Linked DNA regions of Homo sapiens: region 1 is linked to region 2. The links are contacts of gene promoters, found by promoter capture Hi-C in blood cells and fetal thymus (Javierre and others, 2016). All regions are on one chromosome and are shown on one strand. The core of a region is centred on a gene start or on the middle of the fragment in contact, and the rest is flanking DNA. Distances in the headings are between cores, read along the strand shown. Region 1 has its middle 19 kb from the start of TMEM179. Region 2 holds the start of RD3L (RD3 like).

Evidence for each region. Contacts are between HindIII fragments. The CHiCAGO score rates a contact against its expected background, and 5 or more counts as called.
Region 1: a contact is called between a fragment that was not itself captured here and the fragment with the promoter of RD3L in region 2, in 1 of 17 cell types (endothelial precursors). The highest score is 7.4, in endothelial precursors.

What each region holds. Positions count from the first base shown.
Region 1 is chr14:104,621,845-104,624,995 of GRCh38, reverse strand. No RefSeq gene overlaps it. Among named protein-coding and RNA genes, the nearest start is that of TMEM179, 19 kb to the right of the region's middle. The HindIII fragment of the contact is 780 bases long and covers 1,224-2,003 here.
Region 2 is chr14:103,940,696-103,943,844 of GRCh38, reverse strand. It overlaps RD3L (RD3 like), which reads left to right and starts at 1,316. Exons shown (of 3, transcript NM_001257268.2): 1 at 1,316-1,753; 2 at 2,143-2,448; 3 at 2,742-3,149. The coding sequence starts at 2,150. The coding sequence ends at 3,039. The region is part of intron 1 of TDRD9 (tudor domain containing 9); the gene reads right to left. The HindIII fragment of the contact is 3,550 bases long and covers 1-1,760 here.

The DNA of each region.
Region 1 (3,151 bases), core at 364-2,863, 680 kb before region 2:
CTCTGCCTGTCCAATCCTGTGCCTGCTTCACCTTCACCTTCCGTAGGTGCTGCCCCTAATGCACCTCTTACATCCTGACTTCAGCGCCTGCCTGCTTCCTGGCGGACACAAGCCGACCCACTTTACTTATTTTTTTGTTCCCTTGAGCCGCCTTGCTCCGGGAGTGATATGCTAACGTTTCCTATTGCTAGTTTGCTGCTATGACTCCTTACAGTTTCTGTGTTTTTGCTCCTTGAAGGTGGTTGCTGAGTTATTTTTATTTATTTACTTTTGAGACAGGGTCTCGCTCTGTCACCCAGGCTGGAGTGCAGTGGCATGATCTCGGCTCACTGTAGCCTCAACCTCCTGGACTCAAGCAATCCTCCCACCTCAGCCTTCCTAGTAGCTGGGACCAAGGCATGCCCACCATGCCCAGCTAATTTTCGTAGAGACTGGGTTTCGCCATGTTGCCCAGGCTGGTCTTGAACTCCTGAGGCTCAAGCAATCTGCCTGCCTCAGCTTCCCAAAGTGCTGGGGTTACAGGCATGAGCCACCACATCTGGCCCTGAGTTACTTGTTGCATAACTGATCTTTGCGTGAATCTTGTCTTTTTGCATTAAAAAGTCCTTCTTCGTGCTGCCTAAGGCTTTTTTGTCTTGAATTTTACCTTGCCTGCTAGCGTGGTCCCCATTTCTTTTCTTGCTGCATTTATATGACTCATGTACCTTCGTTCATCCCTTCAATTCCAGCATTTTGGATCACTTTACTTCAGCTGTGTCTTGAATACAGCATGTAGTTGGATGTCACTTGTGAGCCAAAGTGATTTTTTTTCCTGTGGTAAGTGAATCAAGCCCATGACTTTGTGATGGTCTAAGTGTTCACGTCCCCCCAAAATTCCTATGTTGAAACCCAGCTCCCAAGGTGTTGTACTAGGATGTGAGAAGGGCTGCCCATTTGGAACAGGATTAGTGCCCTGTTAAGGCCCTTGTTAAGGCCCGAGGGAACCGCTTGCCGCTTCGCCTTGTGAGGACACGTGGAAAGCACCCTCACAGGCATCGAATCTGCTGGCACATTGACCTTGGAGTTCTCAGCCCCAAGAACTGTGTTGCCTGTGAACTTCCCAGTTGTAGGTATTTGTTAGAGCAGCCTAACAGGACCAAGACAGATTCATGCATTCAGCGTCAGCTGTTATAATATTTTCTAATATGTGTATATCGTGACATTCGCCATGTGATGTGTAAGCTTTGCTCTTTCTTTCCTGTTATTTTTCTCAGGGGTTTGTATTTTTATTCTAAGGATTGCTTATCCTTTTTAAGTGCCCTTAGTTTCCTGTTTTCTCACCTAAACTTTCACCGTGGGTTTGTTAGTTTTGGGCAGTAACTAACTGTCCCCCTGATTGCCTGTGTCACCGTAAGTGAGCTGATGCTATTTTCCTCCTTCCCTCTCTCTTCTCCAGCGTTTCAAAGTTGCGATATTCCTACCTTGTCACTGCACACAACATTAGTTATGAACCTTTCACCCTCTGCCCTTATGATGCTCCTTGTGCTGAAGGAGCACAGTCATCTTTTGGGTTGGATGAAGTTAATATTCTAGTAGATTCTTCAAGAAGGGCTCTTGGGCCGGGTGCGGTGGCTCACACCTGTAATCCCAGCACTTTGGGAGGCTGAGGTGGGCGGATCACTTGAGGTCAGGAGTTTGAGACCAGCCAGGCCAACATAGTGAAACCCCATCACTACTAAAAATACAAAAATTAGCCAAGTGTGGTGACGCACACCTGTAATCCCAGGTACTAGGGAGGCTGGGGCAGGAGAATCACTTGGACCCAGGAGGCAGAAGTTGCAGTGAGTCAAGATTGCCCCATTGCACTCCTGCTGCACTCCAGCCTGGGCGTCCCAGTGAGAGACTCTATCTCAAAAAAAAAATAAATAAATAAAAAAATAAGACAAGGGCTCCTGGTTCAGAATGTTCTAAGTTCTTGTATTGTTAAAACTGTTTTCCATAGTTTTGATATTTGAAGGGAAGCTTCACTAGATATTGATATATTTGTATATCTATGCTTATCTATTTCATCCTGTTATAGGACAAGGGGTCCTGATCCAGACTCGAAGAGAGGGTTCGTGGATCTCACACAAGAAAGAATTCAGGGCGAGCCCACAGTGCAAAGTAAAAGCGAGCTTATTAAGGAAGTAAAGTGGTAAAAGGACAGCTACTTCGTAGACAGAGTAGAGCGTTCCCGAAAGTAAGAGGAGGAACGCGTCCACCCTAGGTACAATGCTGGTATATATGGGGAGATGCGCTCTGCTACAAGGGTTTGTGATAAAGAATTAATTTTCTTAATTGCTATATTTTGCAAGGATTGATATTATTACCTTTAAAGCAAAATTAGGAATGCCGTTGTTCTCTAGATATTGGGATAGCCGAACACTCCCAAGTCTGGGTCTGTTTAGTAAACATTATTCATTTGTTCCCTTAACTGTAAACATCTAGAGGCTTGGAATGCCTCACTTTCTGAGGATGCAGCTCAGCAAATCCCCGTCTCATTTTCCAGCCCTCACTGAAGATGAAGTCGCTCTGGTTCGAACGCCTCTGACAATCCTACGGGCGAGCACATCATTTTCCAGCCCTCACTCAAGATGGAGTCGCTCTGCTTCCAACACCACTGACAATCCTACGAGTGAGCATAACATTTCTGGATTAGAGGGAGACCCACTTTTTATTTACAGAACATATTGGCATTGGTTCCTCGTGACTGCTGCCCACCTGGGACAATGTGGTGATAGCGAGAGGAGGCTGCCTGTGCAAAAGGGGGTTTTGCTCTACAGGAGGGAAACCTGAAGATTATGAGTCTTAGAGCTGATGTAGGAACTGTTACACCCATGGGAGAGTGTAAGATAAACCTTATTTTCTAATGTCAACAGATCCTCTCTGAGAAGAGAAGGGAAAGGTCCCAGATTTACAGTTCTTTGGGATGTAAAGTAACGGTCCTGATTTTCATCTGGCTTGGAAATCTAAACACATACCAAAAGGGAGATAAACCTGTCAACCTTTTCCCTGGGTTCTTTCTTTCTTTCTTTCTCCCCCGTCCCTCCCTCTCTCTCTCTTTCCCTCCCTCCCTCCCTCCCTCCCTCTCTCTCTCTTTCCCTCCCTCCCTCCCTTCCTTCCTCTCTCTCTT
Region 2 (3,149 bases), core at 67-2,566:
CATGCATGACATGCAAGTCTGATGTAAACAACGTCTACTCTTCATGGCTCACTTGAAAGGAAAAGCAACAGAAGAAACAAATACTATAAAAGGGAAAACCACTATGCAGTCGTTTCACAGAGAACTGGGGAGTAAAAGACCTTTTATACTATCTACTCTTTAGCAAAAGACAAACACTTGCATAGGAAATTAGCACAGGCCAGCGCAGTGGCTCATGCCTGTAATCCCAGCACTTTGGGAGGCTGAGGCAGGTGGATTACTTGAGCCCAGTTTACGGACCAGCCTGGGCAACACAGGGAGACCTTATTTCTACAAAAAAAAAAAAAAAAGAAATGTATGTGTGTGTGTATATATGTGTGTATTATATATGTGTGTATATTTATATATACATATATAATACATATACATATGCGTATATATACTTATGTGTATATATACATATATGTACATATATAAAATACATACACATATGTACATATATAAAACATATATGTATGTACATATGTGCGTGTGTATATATTTTTTTAAACTAGCCAGGCATGCCGTAGCATGCACCTGTGGTGGCATGCACCTATGGTCCTGGCTATTCAGGGGGCTGAGGTGGGAGGATCACTTGAGCCCAGGAGGTCGAGGCTACAGTGAGCCGTGATCATGCCACTGCACTACAGCCTGGGTGACACAACGTGACTCTGTCTCAAAAAAAAGAAAGAAAGAAAAAAGAAATAGCACAATAATGACCATTACAAACCAATATGCACCTAAATAGTAAATATAAGTTTTTCATCCTCAGCTCCAAAAAAAAAACACGAAAATGATTTTTCTACGATGAATTATAAGATTTTGTTTAGAATTTTGTATGTTCTTATGCCTCTATTTTTCCCTGACAACCAATTACTGCCTTATTACCATATTTTCAGAGATTATAAAGTATATTTTAAAGTTATCTAGCTGTTTATTATGTCCCCTAGCATTTCAACTTGCTTAAATATACAAATTTAACTATTTTGAAAAAACCAAAATGAATACAAAATGTAACATTTGCTAAATATTTCACAATTATAATTCACATCAGCATTCTTTACCTATTTCACTCAATTACAATGAGTTTTCTCAGAATGTATGTTTTGCAAATAGTCAAGTCTAATCTATTTTTCCTGTTTTCACTAGAGGGGACAGTGACCCGGCTTCCAAATGGCCTGAAAGTTAAGCTGAAGAATAAAAGCAACGTGGCTATTTTTAGAGCTCTACAGGCATAAAAATACAGCACTAAACTGTGACCTACAGCTATGCACAGCAAAGCATCACATCACGCGACAGTCTTCACTCTAGCTCGGAGCGCATCTATGGTGCTTTAGACGACCATTCTTCGTTTCACTACCAAAGACATGTCGGAATGCATTTAGGACCAGCATCTATAGCTGCTGGCATTTTTTTCAAATAGACTGAGCTACATTGAAAAGGCAGACCATTATATAACTTGTGAAGATTAAATAGTCAGTTATTTTTGTCATTTCTTCTAGCTTACTTACAAGGTGAATTAATGAGCATTCTCTCCAAATGAAGACATCACAGCCTCATTCCTAACACAGAAAGTTATTTATTTCAAATACAGTTTCGGTGGGTAAATAAGGTGGCGCATTCCTTCTACAGAGGACACACCTAGGAGAGCAAGATACGTCCCAGTGAAACACAGCTTCGTCACCAACTTCAGTCAACTCTTTGGCAACATCACATCAGCCCATCAACTTAACAGGTAAGCTTTAAACCTTTTCTGTCCAAAACATAAATCAAAAGTATCTGTAGGCAGCACTTGCCCCGACATTAATATTTTAAGTCTCTTAAGAACTTTTCACAGCAAGTGTTAGTGTTATTTTCGGATATCATTCAGTCTATATGTTATCTCTGACTTTGTATATCTAATTTCTGCTAAGCTACATAAAAGCATTTTCAAAGCTTGGTTTCTGCCACTGACCTAGTTAAAAATTAAGACGTTAATCCATGTTCTAATCTTATTTTGACCTGCATAGCTAAATGTGAAAAAAAATCGTGCACTTTTCGGGCAAATTTATTGTAAAGAAACAAATATTTGCTCAGAAGAACATAACATTTTGAGCAAATAAACAAGTGAAAATATTTCCATAGGCTAAAAATGCCACTTTTTGGCTGGATGAAATGGCCCAAAAACGATTCCTACAAACCCACACACTATCCTGGCTCAGACATAGTGACAAAGACTCTGCTTCGGGAATTAAAATGGCACCTAAAGGAGCGAGAGAGATTAATACAAGAAATCGAAAATGAACAAAAAGTGAAAAAAACAGGTGTGGATTACAACTGGCTCAGAAACTACCAGAATCCCCACACAACTATCCCAGTGACTGAACAAAGACAACTTGAAGTTCTTTGCTCACAAGTTCAACCTTGCCAAACTGGAACTATTCTCAGCAGGTAAAAATACTATGTTCTCTTATGATTCCTGCTACTGCTAAGTCCAAGTTCCTCATATATTTTGACTAGAAACTGTATTCTATCATGTAAATTCTTTAACTGTGTAGATGTCTGGTGAGCAATTGTTTTAAATTACATTTAAAATTTCTTTACTAGAAGCATAATTTTAAAACAACATGCAAAATACTCAAAAGGTGGGTAACTTGTATACATTATTCAAGCTGTATTTTGGAGATAAAGAGATATAACAAAAAATGTTCTAAACTGAATATTCATTACCATTTCCCCTCTAGATTTCGAGAAGTTTTGGCAGAAAATGATGTACTGCCATGGGAAATAGTCTACATCTTCAAGCAAGTTCTGAAAGACTTCCTAAGCAGCTCTGACAGAGGGAGTGAGCAAGAGGACCTGGAGGACTCAGGGAGCATGGACTGCTCTGCTCCTTCTGTGATCCAAGGTGACAGCTCCAAGAGGGCAGACAAAGATGAAATACCCACCATTTCCAGTTACGTAGACAAAAACACAAAGGACAGGTTCCCAGTGTTCTCACACAGAATATGGAACCTACCATATTATCACCCATCTAGTTAAGTTACTTACAACTAGAGGGGTTTTTATGAACACCTTAGAACTCCTAATATTAAGAATAAGAAAAAGTGATGTGACTTCAAGTTTTTCTTTGTTACAAGGTCAGTATCCTG